3 separate regions of the Homo sapiens genome follow, and regions 1 and 3 are each linked to region 2. The links are contacts of gene promoters, found by promoter capture Hi-C in blood cells and fetal thymus (Javierre and others, 2016). All regions are on one chromosome and are shown on one strand. Each heading gives the region's core, a stretch centred on a gene start or on the middle of the fragment in contact. The rest is flanking DNA. Distances are from core to core; before and after follow the strand shown. Region 1 overlaps GLS (glutaminase). Region 2 holds the start of OSGEPL1-AS1 (OSGEPL1 antisense RNA 1). Region 3 overlaps STAT1 (signal transducer and activator of transcription 1).

What was found. The method cuts DNA at HindIII sites, captures the fragments that hold promoters and counts their contacts. A CHiCAGO score of 5 or more calls a contact.
Region 1: a fragment that was not itself captured here is called in contact with the fragment with the promoter of OSGEPL1-AS1 in region 2 in 1 of 17 cell types (fetal thymus); the score reaches 5.3 in fetal thymus.
Region 3: a contact is called between a fragment that was not itself captured here and the fragment with the promoter of OSGEPL1-AS1 in region 2, in 1 of 17 cell types (fetal thymus). The highest score is 5.7, in fetal thymus.

Annotation. Positions count from the first base shown.
Region 1 is chr2:190,888,540-190,893,193 of GRCh38, forward strand. The region is part of intron 1 of GLS (glutaminase); the gene reads left to right. Among named protein-coding and RNA genes, the nearest start is that of GLS, 10 kb to the left of the region's middle. The HindIII fragment of the contact is 1,815 bases long and covers 567-2,381 here.
Region 2 is chr2:189,760,119-189,764,548 of GRCh38, forward strand. It overlaps OSGEPL1-AS1 (OSGEPL1 antisense RNA 1), which reads left to right and starts at 2,662. Exons shown (of 2, transcript NR_102429.1): 1 at 2,662-2,874. OSGEPL1 (O-sialoglycoprotein endopeptidase like 1) reads right to left here and starts at 2,674. Exons shown (of 9, transcript NM_022353.3): 1 at 2,567-2,674; 2 at 1,302-1,542. The coding sequence starts at 1,522. It also overlaps a transcript of ANKAR not described here and a transcript of ORMDL1 not described here. RefSeq lists enhancers at 2,157-2,316, 2,603-3,349. The HindIII fragment of the contact is 3,776 bases long and covers 1-2,749 here.
Region 3 is chr2:191,009,229-191,013,303 of GRCh38, forward strand. STAT1 (signal transducer and activator of transcription 1) reads right to left here. Exons shown (of 25, transcript NM_007315.4): 3 at 648-776. The coding sequence starts at 775. Among named protein-coding and RNA genes, the nearest start is that of STAT1, 2.9 kb to the right of the region's middle. RefSeq lists enhancers at 2,097-2,206, 2,507-2,596, 3,025-3,084, 3,125-3,184. The HindIII fragment of the contact is 4,868 bases long and covers 1-3,684 here.

The DNA of each region.
Region 1 (4,654 bases), core at 224-2,723, 1.1 Mb after region 2:
AGCTTTTGGGGTTCTCTAGTCACTACTACAACTTCTCAGTTCAGTGGTGGTAGCAAAATAGCTGCAAACAATAGGTAAATAGATGTGGCAGTCTTCCAATAAAACTTTATTTACAAAAAGAGGAGGTCCCTGCTGTAGTTTGCGTAGCCCTACACTAAAATATATTTATTGGTAAGTTCTCTCATGCCTTGATTGGTTCTGCTTTAACCAGTACTCTTAAGGGTGGGTTTGTTCTTTTGTGGATTTTTGTATCTTGTATCAGTTGACTGTTCTTCATGTCTCTACTTTAGCTATCCTCCTTCACTCTTACCTTCTGTATCCAGTTCTGCTTAGCTTTTTCAAAAAATTGTGGTTAAATATACATAACATAAAAATTACCACTTTAACCATTTTTAAGTTCCCTAGTTCAGTGGCATTAAATACTTCTGTTAGTTTTAGAACCCAGATGAATATGCTAATGTGTAAAATAAAAGTATGTAAGTTGTGAGTGAATAAAGTTTATGATCTCACTTTAGTGTAGTGATTTGGAGGACATCTATTTTTAGCAACTCAAAAACTGAGAATTAAGCTTGGAAGTAACTTTAAAGAACATTTAATTCCAGCTCATTTTACGTATTATATAAGCTGCCCGCAGATATTAAATGACCTAAACAAGTTCAGACAGTATTAGGACTTGTTTTGATTTTTTATTTTTCATCTATTAGCAGCAAACTAATTCAATTTATAGAGTTAATTTTTTTAGATTGAGGATTATAAGAGATCTTACAAACCCTTCTCCCCAGCTGCTGCTTTCTTCTCTTCTGTTACATACTCCCTATAGGTTGTTGTTATTCATCTCTACCTGAATACTGCCTTCACAAGGGAGTTCACTCCCTTAGAAGGCAGCCCATTCCGTTTTCATAGCTGTTTCATTTTTCCTTATGTGTGGCTGAAGTTTTTCATTAACTTCTACCTATATATGTTAGTTATTCTGAACAAGTTGTCTATAGTGGTATCAGAGTGATTGCAGTGACAGAATTCATATAGTATCTGTATTATTCCATCTAGACTGATATATTAAAGGATACTTGGCTGAAGAAATGAGTTATTGGAAAAACTAACAGAGTTGGATGTTATAGACTTGATCTCCCCAGATCCTAGTCTTCCCACCCGAGACAGCCAGACTGCCTTTTGGGTCAAACTTCTGAAGTTGTGCAAACGTATGGACAAATTACCATGAGCTGACAGGGGCAGCCTGACCATTTCCTCACATAAAGTGGCTTTTGTGCTTTTTACTTTGGTGTGCTATTAAATGAATTTGTGCTATAAAGTCCAGTCAAAACAGCAGCACTAATTGAATATAATCTCATCTTTGCTTTGACAGGATGCAGTTTTATCAAGGCAGACCAGTTTAGTTCTCTTATGTGCATTTTGGTTAGAAATTTATTATTGTTTAAGAATTACAGATATTATTCCTAAAATAGAGTGCTAACCACTGAGAGCATGAGGTGGCAGAGCAGGAAGAGTCTGGAACTGGGAACAAAGGATGAGCTTTGTAGGACTAATTCTGGTCCAGCCACTTAAGATTTATGTGACATTGGACATTCTGCTTGACTTGGATACTCTTAAAACAAAATTTTTTTTAAATTTAAAATTTAAATTAACATTTTCTTTCTTTTTTTAGAAATGGAATCTTGCTGTGTCACCCAGGCTGGAGTACATTGGTGCCATTATAGCTCACTGCAGCCTTGAACTCCTGGGCTCAAGCAGTCCTCTTGCCTCAGTCTCCCAAGTAGCTGGGACTGTAGGTGCATGCCACCACACTCTTCTAGGACTCTCTTTTATCTGTACACTGGGGACAATTAACCCACCTTAATTTACCTCATAGGGTTTTAATATGATAGAAAGTGAGAGTCCTTTTTTAGCAGTAAAGCCTTAAAAGATGTAAGTTTTTATTTTTAAATTCAACCAATGATTAGCCTTGGGGCAAAATCACTTGGATGATAACTAGAATTTGTCAATTTGTTAGACTTAACATTCATTCTCATATGCTATTTTACTATATGGTCAGCCACCATCAATTCAACTTTCTATCTAACAGGTTTATTAATCTGCCAGTTTGCTGGTGTTGATAGACGGTTGTTATCAGTCAGCTCACTATAAATTCAAAATGATACACTGATTTTAAAACAACCCTGAATTATCATCTGAAGGATCATTATTCTTAAATGAAGGCATAAAGACTAGCAAATCCTTTTGTATTGTGTTATTATTAGGCCTCATTTTTTTTAATCCCACTTGAAAAGACAGTTTTTCATTGTCTCATAGGTTTACCATACTATACTATGTGTTTTAAGAGTTATGCGAAAAAAAAAATAAGAAAGACTTGACCCCAGCCTTGAAGCTTTATAGTTTGGGGAGGTTAGGTAATATGAAATGTTATTTAACAAAATAAGACCATACAGTTGGTTTCAATTATTTTCCTCTGTTCATTTTGTAGTTCTTAGTAAGGATTTTTTTTTTATTTTCTTCCTTTCATTTGATAGTTTTTTATTTATAAGATTTTTGAACTGATGAAGATGAGTTTGCCTTGTTGCTCCTAATTACAGATTAGAAACTTTCTTGATTTCCCCTACCGATTAAGGCAAAATTAAATACTTCATCTGTACTTGCTAATAAAATACTTTTTGAAAAACACTTCTACCATAGTATTTGTCTCATGGCTTTAGTCATATTTCTCCTAGACCACAACCTTACTTTAGGGATCTTTATTGCTATTGCTTGGCATATAATAAGTGGTACAAGAAAAGGACAAAACTTAGTGATACCAGAGAATGCTAAAGAGTATAGAGAATCTGGTGGGGGCAAAGTCCTGTGAAACAATTGAAATGATCATTGATAGCTTAAGATTTAGGGAGAGGAAGGTTTTACACAGAAGGCATGATAGGTTAAAAAAAAAAAAGATGAGATAGCACTTATTTACAGGTCATTGAGTCTAGTCAATTACATTGGGGAATTATAAGGATTAAGTTAGGAATAAATAGTGTAAAACTAATTTATAGAGAACTGCATACCAGACTGAGGAGTATGAATTCCCCCTTTGGTATGGGGAAACTAATTTGGTCAGTGGGGTAAGCAAAGACAGTTCCTCTTTTCATGTTGCAGAAGTTGGCCCTGCATTTAAACTTAATGTAGATTTTGGAAGGTAGTCTCCTCATTTACCTCAGATATATATATTCAGAATATATATATTCTCAACACTAAAAAATTAAGTATTCATATAATAGCCTATAGGTAGAAACAGGCACCTTAATTCACACATTCTGTGCTCTAGCTGTTTTTTGTTCTTTATAAACACTAAGTGAATGCTTACTTTCATCCCTTTGGTCTGTTTGCCAGAAATCTTTTTCTGTTGCCATGCTTCCAGCTCTTACCCATCTTTCAGGTTTAGCTCAGATTCCACCTCATCTAAAAAAAAGCTTGACCTTATTAGACCACAGTGAAGTAGTTTTCCAAAGTCTGGATGTCATAGATCTATTCTTGTAATTCCTCATTTTATGTACATGTCTCCTACTTCTTCTAGACTGTAAATGATGTCTAACATGATGTCATACATGGCATGGGATTTTTCTTCTTTTTCATTAAGAAATTATTTTTTAAGACAGTTAAAGGCTAAAGTAGGGGAAGGAATGGGTAAAAGAAGAAACAATATGATGGTAAGATGATCTTAAAGGCAGCATTTAGAAAGGAAACGAGAGAGACAGTATAAGTTGGAGAAGAAGTAAAAAGGTGAGAAATAAGGATTTTCCTTCAGATTATCTTCTGTTATATCCTATTTGAATTGCTGAATATCATAACCATTTTATGTTTTTCTCTTCAGGGGAATCTGGAGGATTCATTTGGGTTATTAATAATTGTTGATGATAAGATTTGAAAGATTGCTATAATCCTATTTGTCATTAAAACTTAAATACTTCTCTCAAGGATTTCCTAGTTACTATATAGTTACCAAAAGCTATAGTTTTTAGCTTTTGAATTTTAATGAAAAATACATTATTGTGAAGAATTACCAGAAAGAATTAATTTAGGGAGAGAAAAGGGGGGTTAAGGCATGAATGATCTTGAGTAGTTTCTGCCTTGTGGAAAGTTTGAGGAGAATATTTGAGTATGTTTGTTCGCCAGACTGTTGAAGCGAATTCATTCTCAGATCAAAATCTGAGGTTTCAAATGCTGAAATAGGTAGTAATTTCTTTTTATCAGTTTTGACAGCTTATTTTGTGAGCTTATTTTTTAGGGCTGGCTTAAATTCTTTCCCCTATAGATAAAAATTAATTTCTTGTTTAAAAGCAAGTAAACATTTGTCTTTTTTTGCTAGCTTTGGCAATAACGTGGTCATTTTAATTTTTTTTCACTATGTGCCATAAGCTAAAAAAGTGTATATTTTACGTTATTTACATAGCTTTTAGGCAAAGCAAATACCATTTACTTGTGTGATAAATACATAGAAAGCTTATTCTGCAGTTTTTTAAAGTGACAAACTACCACTATCTGAAGTTTATTTGACCAACCATTTGCTGTAAATAATTGGTATGTTATTATCCACTGATTTTTTGACAGCTGGTTCAGTTTTTTCTTTGAATATTAGGTGGTGAGTATTGTTAAGCTGTGTTTAATG
Region 2 (4,430 bases), core at 1,412-3,911:
TTAGTATAGAACAAAATGGAGTCTCCTATGTCTACTTCTTTCTACACAGACATATTAACAATCTGATCTCTCTTTCTTTTCCCCACATTTCCCCCTTTTCTATTCGACAAAACCGCCATTGTCATCATGGCCCGTTCTCAATGAACTGTTGGGTACACCTCCCAGACGGGGTGGCAGCCGGGCAGAGGGGCTCCTCACTTCCCAGAGGTGGCGGCCAGGCGGAGGGGCCCCCACCCCTAAGACGGGGCGGCTGCCGGGCAGAGGCGCCCCCACCTCCCAGACGGGGCGGCTGCTGGGCGGGGGCGCCCCCCACCTCCCAAGAGTATTTTAATATATTCTAAATTAGCTACTAATGTAAAAAATCTGCAAATACATTAACAATCTGGATTTCCAGCCCGGCGCGGTGTCTCACGCCTGTAATCCCTGCACTTTGGGAGGCCGAGGTAGGTGGATCAAGAGGTCAGGAGATTGAGACCATCCTGGCCAACATGGTGAAACCCCGTCTCTACTAAAATGCAAAAAATCAGCTGGGCGTGGTGGCACGTGCCTGTAATCCCAGCTACTTGGGAGGCTGAGACAGGGGAATCGTTTGAACTCGAGAGGCGGAGATTGCAGTGAGCCGAGATCATGCCACTGCACTCCAGCCTGGTGACAGAGTGAGACTCTGTCTCACCAAAAAAAAAGAAAAAAAAAATCTGGATTTCCATTTTCCCTTGAAAATTATAATAATCTAATAACACAGGTCCTGCATTCCCACATGACAACTGGCTAGAGCTGAGTAGTGACCTCCTCCAGACATTTTCCACTTTTTATCTTGTCCATTTATTTAGGTAACCTGCCTGGTAGTCCTCTATAAACATCACAGTTTATAATCCTTGCACCATTCTATGCTTTAATACAACAGTGTATTATTATTTAAGTACTAATACAAGTTATATGTATAAATATGAATAGGATTTTTTTTTTCAATGACTAACAGTTTTCCTAGGACTTCAGCTGAGACCATGAAACATAGAAGTGGAGAAAAGAAGGAATGCATTACTGAAGGAAAATCAATAAATACGGAAGCTGGGAATGAGCTCAGTTTCTTTTGGCAACAGGATTAGTTAAGGTTGGGACCTTATTGTGAAGACCCTTAAAAGCCAGGATGAAGTGTTTGAGGTTTTCTATAGCAGTTATTAAAAGTGTTTGCAAAAAGGAATAAGACAGTAGCTCCTGAAAACTTTTATATATGACAAATACAAAAGAATGATTTTACTTTTTCCAAAAAAGTGGAAATGACTAAGATAATGTCTACTTACTTTAAATGAACTTCAGTTTGGGAATGTATTGCTTCTCCCAACACATTTCCAGTTTCATCCACCACAGCAGCTGCTGTATCATCACAACTAGTTTCAATTCCCAATACTATTTTATGAAGAAATAGTGTTCCAGGATGAAAATTAAAACTTCTTAAAAATTCATAAACTTTCCTTTTTGATGGTTTAAAAAAAACTCCTGCAGTCTTAGTCAAGATTAGCATACTTACTCTATAGATAATTCCTGAAAAAGAATTACAGAAACAACTTATTATTTGCAACTGACATTAGCCAGCTTATTTTTCAATATATAGTTTTACAGAATTACAGGAAAGTTTGTAAAAGTCACCAAAAGTTTGTAAAGGCTATAGCAACATGGGAATATAAATAATATTATGAATGAATATAATGTTCTCCAAGGGGGAAAACAGGGGTCAGATATAAAATTTTTTAGTATTATTATTACTTGCATGCTGTTCCTACCAAAAGACTTACTATTAAGACAGCTAATATAAAGTACAATAATTGATAGAGTCCTCTGAAAAGTGCTATTTATTTTTTGACAGCTAAAATTAAGACAAAATGTGGATTTTCTAAAAAGAATCAAACAACAAAGGCAGATGGAACAGATAAAAATACTGTTAATGTATTCCATCTCCTAAAAACATCTTTCAAAATAAAACTGGATCATTTGGTTCAAAAACAAGAGTTAACATAAACACACACACGCCAACTGCAACCTAACACCTATTTTATCCTTAATTGCAATCTTTGGAATTAAATCTCCACTTTTTGCTACAGGTTTTGTCATAACAAGGATCTTCCCAAATCCTTTTCCCCCAAAATAATAGCAGCCCATCACTAAAGCACACTAGTATTTTCACACTGCGAAGCACCTAATTTTATGCCCCCAGATCATCCGTTCTAAAACTTTCTGGGTGTTAAAGCAGGGCCTTTCTCCACCACACTAAAGGGACACGGCATCCCAGGGATTAGAGATGAGCGACCTATTTGCAGAAGGCAGTTGCGGGCAGTGCAGCCCAGACAGACACAACCTAGAGGAATTAGATTTGCATTAACAAAATCTGGACAAGGAGGATTGTACGAAGCACTACCCTTTCGGGCCAAGAAAGCTGCAGGCTGAACCCACGTGACTTGGGTAGCGCTGGTCTCCTGTCGGCTGTAAGGCGGCGACGGGCGCAAACTGGAACCGCTTTTCCAGGTGCGCAAAAGCGTCAGTGGGGTGAAGAGTGAGCAATTTCACCCACCTTCCACTTGGGCGGCAGTAGCTAGCACTTGTCTCCTTTCCCTACTAAAGACTGTCGACTGCCCTTATCGCTGCAGGAGAAAGCCCGAACCTGGCGCCCGGAAGTGATGTCATCGGAACTGTGCAAGGTCCCGTCCAGAGCTGGCTGCTGTTCCGCTAGCGAGCGGCATGCTTAGTGAAGAAAAGCTTAAAGGCCGTCTTTGCCCAAAACGCTCTCTGTGCGCACCTGCATTTCCCCCAGATTTGCAGGTGATGAGAGTTCTGTAAAATTACACAGCTAGTGACTGATCCAGCGGAGGCCGAATACAGGTTTGTCTGACTACACAACATCAAGTTCCAAACACTAAGCTACATTAAAAAGAAATTTTTTTTTTGCCCTTGGCTGGAATTTGGTTGCTACTGTGAGAAAAGGATGGGGTAGATTATTCGTCATTCATTTTTAAGGGAACTATCATCAAATCTAAACTTAGGGGTGAGGTACCTGATACTTTCATCGGAGAAATAGGATGGAATCTAGCGGCGCCCCCTAGCAGGGTTACCAAAGAACGGAAGTGTTTCTCATCGGACAGTGTAAACCGTTTCTCCCACTTCACTAGGAAGAAAGGGGCTGGCTTATTTTTACAATTAAAAAAAAAAAAAATCGGGAGACTGAGGCAGGAGAACTGCTTGAACTGGGACCCGGGAGGCGGAGGTAGCAGTGAGCCGAGATCGCGCCACTGCACTCCAGCCTGAGCTACAGAGCGAGACTCTGTCTCAAAAAAAAAAAAAAAAAAAAAAAAAAGGCTGTGGTAAATATTCAGTTGCCTTAAACCATCCTATTTTCATAATGCATTATGTTGTCCTTCCTTACTATGTACATGAAATTCAGCATGGTATGTTTTCAAAGTCTTGCACCTGCTTTTTTTTTTTTTTTTCTTTTATTGGTTTGTGAACTTTGTTTTGAACATTGGACAGATTTATTCCAAGAGTCAGGCTTTTCCCCTGCTGGTATTTAAGATTTTAGTAAGCAAGGACCTTAGAATCCACTGTTGTACAGGGCTGGCATATATACCTGCACTTTGCACGTTGTGAAGCTCTGGGTATAAAAGATGAGTAAATCCCATAACAACATGTTGGGAAGCCACAGAGTACAGTCTAGAGGTGGATACAGATAAATAAGTAAATAATTACCAGAATATGGTTGAGGTTTTTTATTTGGAACTTATGTTTTTCAAAAATTTCATTTATGTGTAACAATAATGATAAAGTGGCACTATGTACCAGGCACCTGCTGTAGATTAATTTCTTTCAAAATCCCATGAAATAGTTTCTGTCCTCATTTTACAGGCAACTGGGCCACAGAGTTTGGGTGCTTTGGAGGTCACACAACTAGGAAAAGCAAAGCTAGGATTAGAAGTCAGGACATCTGGCACTGGAGTCTGTTTTCTTAACTGCTAGAAGAGAAAATAACTCACATTTTCTCTAGGGTGCACTGTTGGCCTAAACAAGGGAAAAAAGAAAAATTAAAACCTAAAAGTTAAGAAAAATTAGTCATACGGTTAGAGAGGTCAGAGCTTATTTCTGTTATACACTGGAATCCAGTTTGAACATAAAACCTTTCACATCAGGTATTATTTTTCTTACAATTCCAATTATGTTCAGCAAGTATATCCCAATGCTCTTCTGTGCTGTCAAGACAAGCAAGATCCTATTGTGTGTGCTATCATTGGTAGATTCCTCGTCTAGGCACTCTTGGCCAGTGTTGAGTCCGAATGCTGTTATTATGTGAAACAGGAGAACTCTAGGGCACATTAGTATGGAATTTTATCTTTCCCTTGACCGAATATATGTAAAGTGGCACTTATACAAGTCCCATGTATTTAGCA
Region 3 (4,075 bases), core at 1-2,500, 1.2 Mb after region 2:
ATTTTCTTCTTTTGAAACTGACATTGCTTTTAGCAGCAGTTTATGTGGTATTTCTCTTATGTGCAATTAGCACAAAAAATTCTAAACTCTAAGAGATTGTGCATGACAGTGTTCATGGTGACTATCTCTGAAGGGGGAAAAGTCAACAGGGGACCCTTCACTTTCTATGTCAAATACTTTCAGGACGTTTTTAAATTAGCAAATAATAAATTTTAAAGTAGAACACCTATCAGTTAAAAAAAATCCCCTTAATTTTACTACCTTCTTCATATTTCTAATCAATGTTTAACCATTAATTTGGCTTTATTTCTTTTAAATTACTTCTTTCTATAGTCTGGATCCTAAGTTGGAAAATAATCGGTGTCAGTATTCCGTAACTTGTCCAAAGCATTTAGGAATATCTATCATAAATTAAATTTGGCAAAACTGTATAAAAGTGCTTAATGACTAATATACTTAACTTTGTTGAGACACTTTTTGGCTCAACTTTGTTGAGTCATTTTTTAAATCAACAAACTTTTCTACAACAAATAATTCCAGTGGCCATTGATGGAATTCATCTTCCAGTAAACATGGCCCCAAGTCACTTAATCAACCAGTACTTTTAAGGTGTAAACTTCTTCTTCTGTCTAGTGAATTTTCCTTACCAGTCTTGCTTTTCTAACCACTGTGCCAGGTACTGTCTGATTTCCATGGGAAAACTGTCATCATAAAGCTGGTGAACCTGCTCCAGGAATTTTGAGTCAAGCTGCTGAAGTTCGTACCACTGAGACATCCTATAGGGAAAAAGAATATACATTCTTTCTATGTATATGGAAACCATAGCTCCAAAGAAAGCCTTCCTAGCATCAGGTTGTACTCTTAAATATCTTGCTTAATCCAAAACATAGTTTGTCCCAGGAATATTTTATTTAAATGGCATTTATAGTCTAAAGCCTGTTTTTAATTGAGTTTGGGGATGAACTTTTTTTCTCCTCCACGAAACACATCTTCATGTCTTTGCTTATTGTCAACATATCAGGGCAGCCTTCTCTGGCCTCTTTTATTTAAACTGCAACCACCTCCCACCCTGGAAACATGCTCTCTCTTTTCCCTGGTTTATTTTTCTTCATAGTACTTACACCACCATCTGACCTACCACATATTTTATTTTCATTATTGTCTGTTTTCACCACTTGAAGGGATGGATGTTGGTGGAGGATTCTGTGCACTGGTGTATCCCTAGAACAATGTCAACCACATAGTAGGTATCCAATAAATATGCCTTTAAAATGAGTTTGTGATTTTATCAAATAAATACATGAAAAACATTATTTTAATTAGACTTGCTTTAAGACAAATCACAAGACTCTCCCAAAATTGCTCTCCTACAAATCACAGTACATTTGTAATTTAACTCAAATATTTTCAAACTTCTGTTTTATATTTATGATTCATATGGTAAAATTCATTATTTTTCTTATACACATTTAAAAAGATATATTTTCTTCTTTGCCTACTACAAACAATAAATCTGGCATAAAGAAGTAATGATTTTTAAAGATTAAAACATCATTAAATGTAATTTAAAAGGATAAAGTAACACTTAGCTTTTTGGATAACTGTTAAGTCCATTTTTACATAGTGATCCTAAAGATTCAAAATCACAACAAAAACTTGATATAAGCAAGTCCTAAAATTCATTAGGAAAACGGAGAGTCTCCCATGACCATCATGTAACTTAGGATTTATATCAGCACACAGGTGGCAATATGCAGAGCAGACACAAGTGAATCTTGTCCTGCCAGACCTCTGGGGAAGGAGTCTGGATTTTCAAGTAGGGCATGGAAGAGTGTGTATGCATACTTGTAGCCGAGCACATGTATGCAGGCATGAGGTCACGCCTACTCCACAAATGTCCTTCCAAAGGAGTGTGAGGAAATGTCTGGCCTATAAAGCTAGTTATCCTCATATATACCAGTAGAAACGGACCCAAGCCCAGCCCCTTGGCACTCCTGCTGAAGCAATTTGATTTTTCAGTTCAGTTTTATTTTACCTGAGTGGAAAAATCTGTGGCTGTCTCCCTCCCTGCTTGGTAACTAATAAGGATCTACCTAAAGCAGATATGCTGGACCGTCAGGCAATGGGAGCTGCAACGCCTCTTATTAGCCAAGCGAACCCAGGTAACTTACTCCCCTATCAACAAGGTGTGTGTGTGTGTGTTTAGTAGACAGGAACTTGCTCTGTCATCCAGGTTGGAGCGCAGTGGCAGTGGAGCGCAGTTCACTGCAGCCTCCAACCCCTGGACTAGAGCAATCCTCCCACCTCAGCCTCCCAAGGAGCTCAGACTGCAAGTGATATGGTTTGGCTCTATGCCCCCACCCAAATCTTACCTCGAATTGTAATATAATTCCCATGTGTTAAGGGCGGGACCAGTGGAGGTAACTGAATCATGGGGGCAGTCTCCCCCATGCTGTTCTCGTGATAATGAGTGAGCCTCATGACATCTGATGGTTTTATAAGCCACTGGCATTTCCCCTGCTTGCATCTATTCTCTCTCCTGCTGCCCCGTGAAGAGATGCCTTCTGCCATGCAGAACTGTGAGTCAATTAAACCTCTTCACTTTATAAATTACCTAGTCTCGGGCAGTTCTTTATAGCAGCATGAGAACAGACTAATACAATAAACACGAGCCAAGAAGCCTGGCTAATTTTTAAATTTTCTGTAGAGACAGCCTCTCGTTATGTTTCTGAGGCTGGTCTCAAACACCTGACCTCAGGCAATCCTTCCACCTCAGCCTCCCAAAGTGCTGGGATTACAGGCGTGAGCTTCCGCACCCTGCCACAGTTGGTTCTTAAGGCTGGTTGAGCTAGTACATATGTAGCACCTGGCACAGAAGAGGTGAATTAATAAGCTCATGTTTGGGCTGGCCAGGTGGCTCACGCCTGTAATCCCAGCACTTTCGGAGGCCAAGGTGGGCGGATTGCCTGAGCTCCGGAGTTCAAGACCAGCCTGGGCAACATGGTGAAACCTTGTCTCTACTAAAATACAAAAAAAAATTAGCAGGGCATGGTGGTGTGCACCTGTAGTCCCAACTACTCGTGAGGCTGAGGCAGGGGAATTGCTTGAACCCAGGAGGCGGAGGTTGCAGTGAGCTGAGATCGCGCCACTGTACTCCAGCCTGGGAGACAGAGAGAGACTCTGTCTCTAAAAAAAAAAAACAATGAATAAATAAGCTCATGTTCACAAATCTGGAGTCAGTCTCATCTACTCACAAAACCTGTTACCAACTCAGGGAGTGGCATGGCCATCTCCCAGTCACTGAGCTCAAATCTCAGATTTAGGGTTGATTCCTTCCACTCCATCCCAAGACCTGCTCCTTCCTGTCTCCAACATTCTACCTTCCCAGTCCAGCCTCTGCTGCCCACAGATTGGACCACATCAATCTCCTGTGCAAAAATCCTATGATCTGTCCATTCCTAGGCAGATTTCCACCCCACCCCATCTTCATCCATCAACAAAGCAACCCAGTCACCAAATCATTTACTGTTTTTCAACTGTGCCCAACATTTCTGCTTTGCTCCAGCTACTCGCCCTTGGAAACAGCCTCTCCACAAATTTTTGCGTCTCTAAATCCTATAGCATTCAAAGCTATGTACAAAAGCCCCTTCTTTCATAAAGTTGTCTGAGACTTACTCACAATTAAGCTTTCTTTGACTTGCGTCTCACTGAATTCTGTACCTCTATTAGAGCATCGGTTCCAGTTTTCCTTGTAAAGCTCTGTGATGCCTCCAGAGTCCCCGGCGGGGGAAGGTGGGTGGGGAGGGGGTAGAGTAGTGGGGTATTTTGCTTTTTAACATCTTATGGACCTTGGACAGTGCCCTGCATATACTATGTGCTCGAAACAGTTTGTTGAATTGAAATTATGTATATTTCAGACGGAATTAGAAAGTAAAAAGCAAACCATATTATGATCTCACAAGTGTGAGTCCAGCATCCTCATTAAGCAATGGTTGCACAATGGACTGTGCTGGAGGCTCAAGTCCTGTTTCTGTTCTATGAAAATAACTCCTTATCTATACAAACAACATTCAAA